4 separate regions of the Homo sapiens genome follow, and regions 1, 2 and 3 are each linked to region 4. The links are contacts of gene promoters, found by promoter capture Hi-C in blood cells and fetal thymus (Javierre and others, 2016). All regions are on one chromosome and are shown on one strand. Each heading gives the region's core, a stretch centred on a gene start or on the middle of the fragment in contact. The rest is flanking DNA. Distances are from core to core; before and after follow the strand shown. Region 1 holds the start of ABHD16B (abhydrolase domain containing 16B). Region 2 holds the start of MIR647 (microRNA 647). Region 3 overlaps TPD52L2 (TPD52 like 2). Region 4 holds the start of HELZ2 (helicase with zinc finger 2).

Evidence for each region. The method cuts DNA at HindIII sites, captures the fragments that hold promoters and counts their contacts. A CHiCAGO score of 5 or more calls a contact.
Region 1: a contact is called between the fragment with the promoter of ABHD16B here and the fragment with the promoter of HELZ2 in region 4, in 3 of 17 cell types (M1 macrophages, non-activated CD4 T cells and neutrophils). The highest score is 7.3, in M1 macrophages.
Region 2: a fragment that was not itself captured here is called in contact with the fragment with the promoter of HELZ2 in region 4 in 1 of 17 cell types (monocytes); the score reaches 5.2 in monocytes.
Region 3: a fragment that was not itself captured here is called in contact with the fragment with the promoter of HELZ2 in region 4 in 2 of 17 cell types (naive CD4 T cells and M1 macrophages); the score reaches 5.9 in naive CD4 T cells.

Annotation. Positions count from the first base shown.
Region 1 is chr20:63,860,082-63,862,781 of GRCh38, reverse strand. It overlaps ABHD16B (abhydrolase domain containing 16B), which reads right to left and starts at 1,284. Exons shown (of 1, transcript NM_080622.4): 1 at 1-1,284. The coding sequence starts at 1,241. It overlaps ABHD16B-AS1 (ABHD16B antisense RNA 1), which reads left to right. Exons shown (of 2, transcript NR_165314.1): 2 at 1-1,567. The HindIII fragment of the contact is 10,144 bases long and covers 1-2,700 here.
Region 2 is chr20:63,941,707-63,944,406 of GRCh38, reverse strand. It overlaps UCKL1 (uridine-cytidine kinase 1 like 1), which reads left to right. Exons shown (of 15, transcript NM_017859.4): 7 at 1-10; 8 at 738-754. MIR647 (microRNA 647) reads left to right here and starts at 1,681; the gene lies at 1,681-1,776. RefSeq lists enhancers at 664-1,375, 1,376-2,089. The HindIII fragment of the contact is 298 bases long and covers 1,293-1,590 here.
Region 3 is chr20:63,878,005-63,880,704 of GRCh38, reverse strand. The region is part of intron 4 of TPD52L2 (TPD52 like 2); the gene reads right to left. Among named protein-coding and RNA genes, the nearest start is that of TPD52L2, 14 kb to the right of the region's middle. RefSeq lists an enhancer at 2,367-2,536. The HindIII fragment of the contact is 6,839 bases long and covers 1-2,700 here.
Region 4 is chr20:63,572,797-63,575,496 of GRCh38, reverse strand. HELZ2 (helicase with zinc finger 2) reads left to right here and starts at 1,258. Exons shown (of 20, transcript NM_001037335.2): 1 at 1,258-1,313; 2 at 2,276-2,700. RefSeq lists an enhancer at 422-1,149 and silencers at 934-1,213, 1,854-1,913. The HindIII fragment of the contact is 21,413 bases long and covers 1-2,700 here.

The sequences.
Region 1 (2,700 bases), core at 35-2,534, 290 kb before region 4:
GCCTCCTCGCCCTCCAGCTCCTCTTCGCAGCGTGCACGGTAGGAGCGCAGCAGCGCCAGGCACCAGTCCTCGTCCACGCGGTAGCGTGCATAGAAGGCGGCCTCCTGCGCCAAGCTGCCAGCGCGCAGCCAGCGGGTGACGACGGCGCGGCCCTCTCGCGCCATCACGACGGGGTAGCGGTGCTCCAGCAGGCGCAGCAGCAGCTCATTGCCCCGGTTGCCCTCCACGTCACCAGGTGACAGGGGGCGCAGGCGGCCCGAAGTGCTGACCACGTCATCCTGCGTGCGTCGGAGCAGCAGCACCGGCCCCGGGTAGCAGCACAGCTGCTCGGCCACGTTGAGGTTGAAGTGCTCGCGCACGGTGCGCACCACCAGCCCCTTCCAACTGTGGGGCATGACCTTCAGCGCCAGCGGCACAAGGTCGTCGAAGGTGGCGTCCAGCACCAGTGCACCCAGCTCCGGGTAGGTCATGGTGGCCCAGGTGGCCGTGAAGCCGCCAACAGACCAGCCGTAGACCACCAGGTGCGCGGGCGGGAAGTGCAGGCGGTGCAGTGCGTACTCGACCACCACGTCCATGGCGTTGGCGTCGTGCTGAGGGAAGGGCACGCCAGTGCTGCTGCCGAAGCCGGGGTGGTTCCAGCCCAGCACGGAGTAGCCGGCCTCGAGCGGTGCAGACAGACAGCCCATCTCGTAGAAGCCCGCGTTGCCTTCGCAGCAGATGACGAGGCGCGGCCCGTGCACGTGGCTGCCCGGGTGCTGGCGGCGGTCCATGAACATAGTGTCGATCTCGTTGCCGTCACAGGCCACCAGCTTGGCGCGCCGGCCGTGGTAGCGCTCCACGAGGCGCTCTTGGCCCTGCTGCAGCAGCGGCAGCAGCGCGCGCGTCATCAGGGACACGGAGCCGGGGTACACGAGCCAGCGGCCCAGCGAGTGGGCCAGCGCGTAGCTAGCGAGCTGGCCGGGCAGCTCGCGGAGCTGCTGCAAGAGGCACTGCGCCTGGCTGCGCGCCCCACGTGGAGGCCGCCCCAGCGCATCCCCGCCCAGCGTCTCGTCCCGCAGCAACCACACGCCCGCCGCGGCTGCCGCGCAGGTCAGCGCCCGGTGGCTGCTGCTCCGGCCCACGGCGCGCACGTCATCCCAGCGGAAGGCCACGGGCCAGCCGCGGAATGGGTAGGTGTAGCTGGCGGTCAGGTAGATCTTGAACACGCGCACCAGCGCCTTCACGAAGCAGATGACGCACATGAGCGGTGGCCCTAACGCCCAGCCGCTGGGCCGGGATCGCCGCGAGAGGCACAGGGCAGTCTTAGGGGATACCGGCTCCCGGACAAGCCCTGATGGCCTTTGTGACCTGGCCTTCCAGGGCGGAGGGAAGGCTGCATCCTGTTGCTAGGTGATGGGTGCACAAAGGGTTCCCAGAGATGATGAACCCAAGGTTCTGCCCGTCCCCCGCCTTCGCCAAGACCCCACCAGCTAAACGCTCCCAGGCCCAGCTTTCCCACCCATGATTTGAGCAGCTACTGTCTCCCTCTTTCTTCCTTATTTATTTATTAAATTGAGATGGGGTCTCACTATGCTGCCTAGGCTGGTCTTGAACCCCTGGGCTCAAGCGATCCTCCCGCCTCCACCTCCCACAGTGTTGGGATTACAGGTGTGAGTCCCTGCACCCCGCCTCCACCTCCCACAGTGTTGGGATTACAGGTGTGAGTCCCTGCACCCCGCCTCCCTCTTCCTTAAATTTAAGATGGACAGCCCCACGGGCCAAAAAGGGACAGCAAGGCCTCCTCCGCCTGTACCAGGCTTGCTGTGGGTCCTGCAAGTTTCCCTTCAGGGTCTGCTGGTTTAAACCTCATCTCCCCAGGACGGCCGGGGTCAGAGACAGGGCTGCTGCTGCACCAAAAAGGCGGTATTTGCTCTCGGCCCGGCCCCTCCTCTCCACACCTTCCTTCTTCGGTGCTGACCAGAAACAAGCCCTCTCCTTTTCTGGATCCTCTTTTCACTGGCTGCCAGCAACAGCAGTGACCTTCTGGGGCGGGTCCTGCCTGGCTGGGGTTCCTCTTTCTCGCTCCTGGGTCGAGCCCCCACTCCCAGGCTGCGCCTCCCTCTTTTCTGGAGAGGTATCTTTTCTCCTGCCCTGGAAAGGGCCAGCCCACCTGAGGGCAGGGTCGGAAGCCGCCTGCCAGGAGGAGCCCCAGGGAAGAGGGCAGCTCCAGGTACTCAACAGCTCCCCAGACCAGAAACAAACATGCTACAATCAGGGAGTTTGGCAAATCCAGCCAGAGCCTCTGAGCCCAGGTGCCAGGCCCGCCTGGGACCCCAGCCTTCTGGGGAAGGGGTAGTTTCAGGCTGAAGCACCCCCTCTCTGCTCTCCTGCTCAGCGTCTGGGTTAGAGGCACTGCCTGACCCTAACAGGCCCCGCCCCTAGTTGGGGGAGTCAGCTGCTGCCTTTAGGGGTTGGGGGACAGAAGACAGGGACCAATTAACAAAGGGAGCGATTTGGGGGGCTATTACCCCCATTCTAGGTTGCCAGATAAAATACAGAATAATATGCCAGTTAAATTGGAATTACAAATAAACAAATACTTTTTGGGTATAAGTATGTTCCAACTTCTGCTTGAGACATTATTTTAAAATTGTTTATCTGAAATTCAAATTTAACTGGATATCCTGTTTTTTCTGTTTGTTTGTTTGTTTGTTTTTGAGA
Region 2 (2,700 bases), core at 192-2,691, 370 kb before region 4:
GCTGGAGGAGGTGAGCGGGGTCCCACGTCCCCACGGCCTAGCCCCCAGCCCCTCTACCCACTTCTCCGCTGCCACCACCCCCAGTGGCCTGGTCACCTCATCCCCCTGCGTTCACTGTCCCCTGCCAGGTGCCAGCCCTGAGTGTCCTGAGCCTGCTTGGCCAGTCAGATTGTCCAGCCCAGACCCCATCCCGTTGTGCTGTGCAGGGCCTGGGTTCCCTGAGGAAGCTGGGGTGGGGGTACAGGTGCTCAGGACCCAGCCGAGGGTGCAGCCCGCTCAGCACACCCAGCCTGAGCTTTTGGGAAGACAGGCATGACCTGCTGGCCCAGGATTGTGGGGTTTCACTGCTGAGTCCCACGCCAGGCCAGGCTCCTCTCTTTCTCAGGGGGTCACCCCAGGAGCGACACCCCCACCAGAGGTCCCCTGCTCCCTGAGGCATTCTATGGCTGGGCCTTGGAGCCTGAGTGGCTCTGAACACACTCCCTACCAGGATGTTGAAGGCCTGAGGCCTGCAGAACAGAGCCCAGGGTCCTGGCTCTGATTGCCCCAACGCAGAACTGCAGGTCTGGCCCAGGTGGTCCCCAGGTTACAGGCATTAGAAGCTTGCCACCCCCCATGGCTGGCTGTGTCCCCGCGGGCCTGCAGCATGTCCATTCCTGGGTGGGGGTGGCCTGGCCGCCTGCCCTGGTCACTGACGCGCCACCGTTCCCTTGTGTCTTCCTGTGTTGCTGCCACAGCGTGAACTCAGCGTCAGGTAAGACTTGCACAGCTGTCTGCACAGATGGAGGCACTTCCAACACCTCCAAGGAGCTCTGGGGTCTGGGCTGTGATCCAGCCAGGCAGCTGGCTCTTCCCCAGTCACAGAAGGGGTGGTGTGGAGTGGTCCCAGCCCTGCTTCTGCCTCCCCTTGCTGGCAGATGAGGACACTGAGGCACAGAGACGTGAAGTAGCTTGCCCAGCGTCACGGAGTCCTGACCCTGTCCTGGCCAGACTTTGCTGGAGGCTCCCCTGACTCCTGAGTCTGTCTATGGGATTTGACCCCAGAGAGCACAGCTGTCCTCCTGAGCCAGCACTGCCAGGCCTCTGGGGCAGTGACTACAGACATGTCCCAGCAGCCAGGGAGCCTGCTGTACCTCCTGTGCCCAGCCTCACGGACCAGTCAGCTTTCCCTGGTTGCAGGTGGAGGGCCTCGCGCCTGTCCTCCCACCCACCCGGGTCCTGCTTGCCCCAGCTCTGTCCTCGCAGCCCGCACAGCTCTGCCAGCAGGAACTGGGCAACTGCAGCAAGAAGCTTGGGCTGGGCCGGGGCCGCATCCCACTGTCCCTCCCCAAGGGCAGGCATGCAGGGGGGTCAGCCACAAGGGACCTGCCCTTCTCCCTGCCTTCTGTGGGTTGGGAGGCTCCTGACTGAGCCACCTGGAGGGAGAGCCCTCACATTCAGAGCCCTCCAAAGAGTTTGCCAAATGTTGGAAATGCCTCCAGGGCCCGTCCACCAGCCGTCCAGCTTCCGGTGCCTGCATGAGTCTCCGCTTGGCCCTCTCCTCGGCCTAGGAACCCGCAGGTCTTGTCCCGTCAGGTTCCTCCTGAAGCTTTTGTTCTGAGAGGAAAAACTTTCCAGGGTTTCAAACTTGGAAAAACACCTGAACGCAGCCAGACACATTTTCCGTCGTCTGGTCAGCCAAGGAAGTGTTGGCCTGTGGCTGCACTCACTTCCTTCAGCCCCAGGAAGCCTTGGTCGGGGGCAGGAGGGAGGGTCAGGCAGGGCTGGGGGCCTGACCGCCCACACTCCTCCTCAGGCCTGCGGGGAACGCCCTGCTCCCCAACTAAGCAGCCTTCTCTTTGTTCTCTTCCTTCTCTCTGTAAACCCCCGTTTCCTGCCTTGTTCCCTCCCTGAACATGCTCTTCACCTGGCAAGCAGAGGAAGCTACGTTGGGATATGTGAGCAGTGTGCTCCGTGGTGCTGCTGTGTGACCCGCCTTCCCGTAGCCCCTTGCCCCGCTGCTCCCGCTAGGCCCTCTTTCCTGCTCCTGCCCCGCCCCTTTCCCTGCCGCTGTCACGCCTCTTTTCTGCCCTGCCACACCCCATTTCCGGCCCCGCCCCTTTCCCTGCCGCTGTCACGCCTCTTTTCTGCCCTGCCACACCCCATTCCCGGCCCCGCCCCTTTCCCTGCCGCTGTCACGCCTCTTTTCTGCCCTGCCACACCCCATTCCCGGCCCCGCCCCTTTCCCTGCCGCTGTCACGCCTCTTTTCTGCCCTGCCACACCCCATTCCCGGCCCCGCCCCTTTCCCTGCCGCTGTCACGCCTCTTTTCTGCCCTGCCACACCCCATTCCCGGCCCCGCCCCTTTCCCTGCCGCTGTCACGCCTCTTTTCTGCCCTGCCACACCCCATTCCCGGCCCCGCCCCTTTCCCTGCCGCTGTCACGCCTCTTTTCTGCCCTGCCACACCCAATTCCGTGCCCTGCCTCTTTCCTTCCCCTGCCACACCCAATTCTGTGGCCTGTCGCTTTCCTCTTCCTGCCCCTGCATCACCCCCTTTCCTGCCCCGCCCCATTCCCTGCCCCTGTCATGCCCCTTTCCGGCTTTGCCTCCTCCCTGTCCCACCTCTTTCTTGCCTCCACCCCGCCCTTTTCCTGCCCGCTCCTAGACCTGCTGCTGCCCCGGCCATCCCCAGGCTTGGGCAGCGGGGCGGGACGGGACAGC
Region 3 (2,700 bases), core at 71-2,570, 310 kb before region 4:
GTTAGCCAGGATGGTCTCGATCTCCTGACCTCGTGATCCGCCTGCCTCAGCCTCCAAAAGTGTTGGGATTACAGGTGTGAGCCACCGTGCCCAGCCCAAAAATACAAATTCTGAAGACATCTTTAACCTTGATTTTCCCTGAAATAACAAATGCATAAAACCATGTGAACATTCTGTGGTTCGCTGAAGCAAAGTCACCTGCAGCAGAGGATTCTAAAGCGCTCACAGCACCTGCATTTGTGCCTAAAGAGTGGGGATGGGGAAGCTGCACCTGCATTTGTGCCCTAAGAGTGGGGATGGGGAAGCTGCACCTGCATTTGTGCCTAAAGAGTGGGGATGGGGAAGCTGCACCTGCATTTGTGCCCTAAGAGTGGGGATGGGGAAGCTGCACCTGCATTTGTGCCTAAAGAGTGGGGATGGGGAAGCTGCACCTGCATTTGTGCCCTAAGAGTGGGGATGGGGAAGCTGCACCTGCATTTGTGCCCTAAGAGTGGGGATGGGGAAGCTGCACCTGCATTTGTGCCTAAAGAGTGGGGATGGGGAAGCTGCACCTGCATTTGTGCCCTAAGAGTGGGGATGGGAAAGCTGCACCTGCATTTGTGCCTAAAGAGTGGGGATGGGGAAGCTGCACCTGCATTTGTGCCTAAAGAGTGGGGATGGGGAAGCTGCACCTGCATTTGTGCCCTAAGAGTGGGGATGGGGAAGCTGCACCTGCATTTGTGCCTAAAGAGTGGGGATGGGGAAGCTGCACCTGCATTTGTGCCTAAAGAGTGGGGATGGGGAAGCTGCACCTGCATTTGTGCCCTAAGAGTGGGGATGGGGAAGCTGCACCTGCATTTGTGCCCTAAGAGTGGGGATGGGGAAGCTGCACCTGCATTTGTGCCCTAAGAGTGGGGATGGGAAAGCTGCACCTGCATTTGTGCCCTAAGAGTGGGGATGGGAAAGCTGCACCTGCATTTGTGCCTAAAGAGTGGGGATGGGGAAGCTGCACCTGCATTTGTGCCCTAAGAGTGGGGATGGGGAAGCTGCACCTGCATTTGTGCCCTAAGAGTGGGGATGGGGAAGCTACACCTGCATTTGTGCCTAAAGAGTGGGCATGGGGAAGCTACACCTGCATTTGTGCCCTAAGAGTGGGGATGGGGAAACCGAAGTTGGAGAGAAAACAACCGCCTGTGCCCGGCCTTCAGAATGAGATGTGGGGTCCTGAGCGTGACCTGTGGGTGGGTAAGTACCACCCACACAAGGAGGATCGGAATGAGATGCGGGTCCTGAGCGTGACCTGTGGGTGGGTAAATGCCACCCACACAAGGAGGAGGGTCCTGAGGGTTCCTGGCCACTGACCACTGGCCACTGACACCCGGTGCCACTGTGATCAGTCCCTGCTGTGCCATAAACCACACTCAAGCCCCTGGGGGCCCCACAGCCCTCAGCATTGCTCGGGTGTGGAAATGAGGGGGTCACAAGGGAACCTCCTCTAGAAACAGGAACCTCCAAACTGGGATGGCCCTGGAAACAATGGGCATCACCTGCATAGCCTGAGGCCACCACCAGCGCCTCCCTGGCCTTCTCTTCCTACAGCAGGTCCCTGCCCAACAGCTGTGGCTCTGACCTCTCCCTTCCCCTTCTCAGTCCCATCCTGGGCCTCCAAGGTGGCGGCAGCAGCTGTGAGGCCCCCTTCCAAGGCTCACAGCGCTGCAGGCCTGTTCTGAGAGCGTCAAACACACAGGCACACACATTCCTCAGTGGACCAGAAGGCTGGGTTGTTATTACTCCATGACAGATGGGGAAGCTGAGCCCGGGAGGAAGGGGCAGGGGTCAGAGCCAGCATCTGCACCCAATAACTAGCTTCAGCTCTCCTTGAGAGCACCGGGCCGGGCAACCCCAGCCAGCACCCATTTGGGAGTTCCTAAGACCTTCTAGGAAGAGAGCCCTGGACAGACAGCGGTTTCGTCCCACTGCCAGTGAGCTGTCCCCTGGGCAGCACAGGGCATCTGGGGGACATCCTTGCACTCCCCCTCTCCTGAGTCTGTCTCTGGGGGCTGCCCCCACTCCCACTCAGGATGGACAAGTGATCCAGGCCTGGCCAGAGCACACCACCTCCAAGGCCGCAGCCATTAGTCCAGGGAGACCCATATGGGGCCACACTGTTGGGCTGCAGCAGTGGGGGCAGGGACTTCTCTGCCTGGTGAGTGCTCCCACCTCCCTGTTTGGTTGATGCTACCTTGAGTCGTGCTTTCTGTCACCTGCAACCAAAACAACTCCAAGTGAACCAGCTCATAACTGCAGGATCTATATGATGCCCCTCTCAGCACTGAGGTTTTTAGTTACCTCTGCCTATAAATAGAATGCAACAGGCAATTGTTTCACCACTCGCAGAACACAGCTGCTCTCGCATTCAGACATGACCCACTGAGAATGTGGCCGCATTGCAGCCTCATGGGGCCAGGCACCAGTGCTATCCTCCACCCACCGGCCACGTTCTCCTTCCCGTCCATCCTCCAGGGCGCCAATAGCTGAAAGGATCTACAAACACGTGGGTCAGGATGCAGGGAGCTTTTACTGCCTTCCCCTGCAGAGCTCTGGGCAGTGGAGGTACATCTACAGCCCATCTCCTGAAGCTGACTAGGAGAGGCACCAGCCAGGAAGAGCACGCGCCATGGCCACATCCTCAGGCCCCACCTCCCAAGCCGCATCCCTTCC
Region 4 (2,700 bases), core at 9-2,508:
CCACCATGCGACTGCAGGTTAGTTTAGGAGGAACTCACGTCTTTGTGTGGTGTTGAGCCTCTCCATCCAGGAACACAGCGTTCCACACAAATTCTCCCAGCGTTCCACGCACATGGACCCTGCTCAGCGCCCGGCCCCTGGGGCTGCTATTGTCGAGGGCCTGCCCTCTCCCAGGAGCTCCAACGTGATTGGTCTGCGGAGAGGCTCCCTGGTGGTTGACGGCCCACCCAGCCGACCTCCCGAGGTCGCTGTGAGCCCCCAGCCTGGCCCTCCCCACGAGGTGCTGGCCTTGGGTGGCAGCCTTGCTTCCTTGTTTCAGGGGCAGCATCACTGTCCGTTATCTACTGCTGCAGAACAGATCGCCCCAAAGCTCAGGGGCTTAAAACAACACAGATGTTTATTTTATTTATTTATTTGTTTTGAGATGGAGTCTTGCTCTGTTGCCCAGGCTGGAGTGCAGTGGCGCAATCTTGGCGCACTGCAACCTCCACTTCCTTGGTTCAAGCAATGCTTCTGCCTCAGCCTCCCGAGTAACTGGGACTACAGGCGCCCGCCCCCACCCCTGGCTAATGGGACGTTTATTTTAAACATAGACATCTAACAGCTGGGCGTGGTCTAGGTGGGAGGGTTAGGCCTGGGGTCTCCCTGAGATGGCAGTAAGGCTGGGGCTGGGACTCGAGCTGCAAGTGGGCTGGAGGCCTCAGCTCCTCTATGGGGCCTCCCCACAGGGCTGCTGAGGGCCCAGAGCCAGTCCAGAGAGCCAAGAGCCAGGCGTGCTGACTCTGGGACCCGGCGGCCACTTAGCCATTCCTGCCATATCCTGGTTGGTGACAGAAGGGACTTGGGGTCCCAGCAGCACCAGGGCCACGGGCAGGTCCTGCCTGTCAGGGGACCCAGGCTTCCAGGTCAGCTGTGCCTGGATTTCTCCAGGGGCTGATGGTGGAGTCACCAGACCATCCTGCCGTCCAGGGCCGGGCAGGGTCTCACCCCTTCCGCCTGGCACATCATCGGGGCGTCTCTGGTGTGTGAAGGGCTGGACGGGGCGTGGGGCCCTGGAGGGGTGCGGGAAAGGACCCCCACCCCCAGCCGCCTCCGCCTTCGACGGCGCTGGCCCTTCAGGGAGGGGCGTCCTCTGCTCGCTGGCGCTTCCCGAGGTTCCCTCGCAGCGGGGGCCGAGCTGTCGCTGGAGGCGGGGCAGGGCGGGGCGGGGCGGGGGGCGGTGAGGTAATTTCCGCGATCAGCGTCAGTGCCCGGGCCAGAATCGAAACTGAGAGCTCCTGGGCAGGCTCGGCAGGGCAGGCAGCTCCAGGAGGGTGAGCGCGGGGGTCCCAGGGCGGAGGGGCGGGGGCGCGGGGGTCCAGGGGCGGCTCCAGGAGGGTGAGCGCGGGGGTCCCAGGGTGGCGGGGCCGGGGGCGGAGGGGGGGGTCCGGGAGGGTGAGTGCAGCCGGGGGCGCGGAGTCCCGGGAGCCACAGACCCAGCCCGGGGCAGTGCAGCCCGTCCAGGACCAGCACCCTCCGCAGCAAGACCCAGCGCTGTGGTCTCTGCACCCACTGGAGCGCAGGATTTTGGGGTCTCGGCTCCCGTCCTTTCTGGATGGCAGACTCGGATGTTTTCTCAGAGGGGTCCGCGGGGAGTGCCGGGTTCTCATACTGAAGTCTGCCTCCAGTCTGTTGCTTTTAAACTTACTCTTCTTGTAGCATCCCAGCTGCGGTGGGGACCCGGGGACCCATCTCTTCCTGGCACCCTGAGCTCTGGTGGGCACTGTACCCTCCTCTCCGTGAGGCCCCTCCCCAGGTGCAGATGTGGAGTCCTCTTTTCCTGGGGGCCAGTGGTCATTCAATAGAAAAGGAGGTGCTGTGTCCTTAGAAGAGTCAGGAGCCTGAGGCCCTGGGGTGCACAGGACCCCTGGCTGGGGCAGAGGGGTGCGGCCTCCTGGGGGCGGCACTGTGCCAAGGGCTCTGCCCCCTCCAGGGCTCCACAAGCAGTCACCTTGGCTCCTTCTAGGTGGGGCCTGAGACCCTTCAGGAGGGAGGGTCTGGCTGTGTCCGGGTCAGTGAGCCCTGTACTCCCTGACAGGACACAGCTACTGCCAAGGCCTCCACTTGGGCGTCAGGGTGGGGAGAGTCCCAACTCCTTGCTTGGTGGAGAGGCCTCTGCTTGGGCATCAGGATAGGCAGATCCCCAGCTCCTTGCCTGGTGGAGAGGCCGTGCTTCTGAGCTGGGCCTGGACCAGATGTCCTCTGGCCTCAGTCTCACCTGCTCCTTCTGTCGCAGGCTTCGAACCGTGGCCAACAGTTCCAGTGGACTGCGTGGACCCGTGAGCTCAGGAGCCTCAGACGCCTCCCTGGAGAGCCAAGCTGGTGTTCGAGGTGGCGCCTCCAGGGTCCACCCTGCTGCCCAACAGCCCCGCGGCCACCAGAGGGCCGTCCCTGGCCCGGCTGTGTGCCCTGGTGGACCTGTGTCTGGGCTGCTCCCGCTGCACCCAGCGGCTCAATGAAAGCACCTACGTCCTCCGTAGGGTGGAGCATGACTGCTCCCGCGAGATCCTGCTGGCCCGCTTTAAGCAGGCCACCAAGAGCAAGGTCTGGCGCGTGGTGGGCTGCCGGCCCACCTTCCCAAGGCCCCTGTGCTACCAAGTCTGCCACTACTACAGCCCTGGGCTCGGCTGCCGGCGCCACCGAAACCGGTGCACCTTTGCC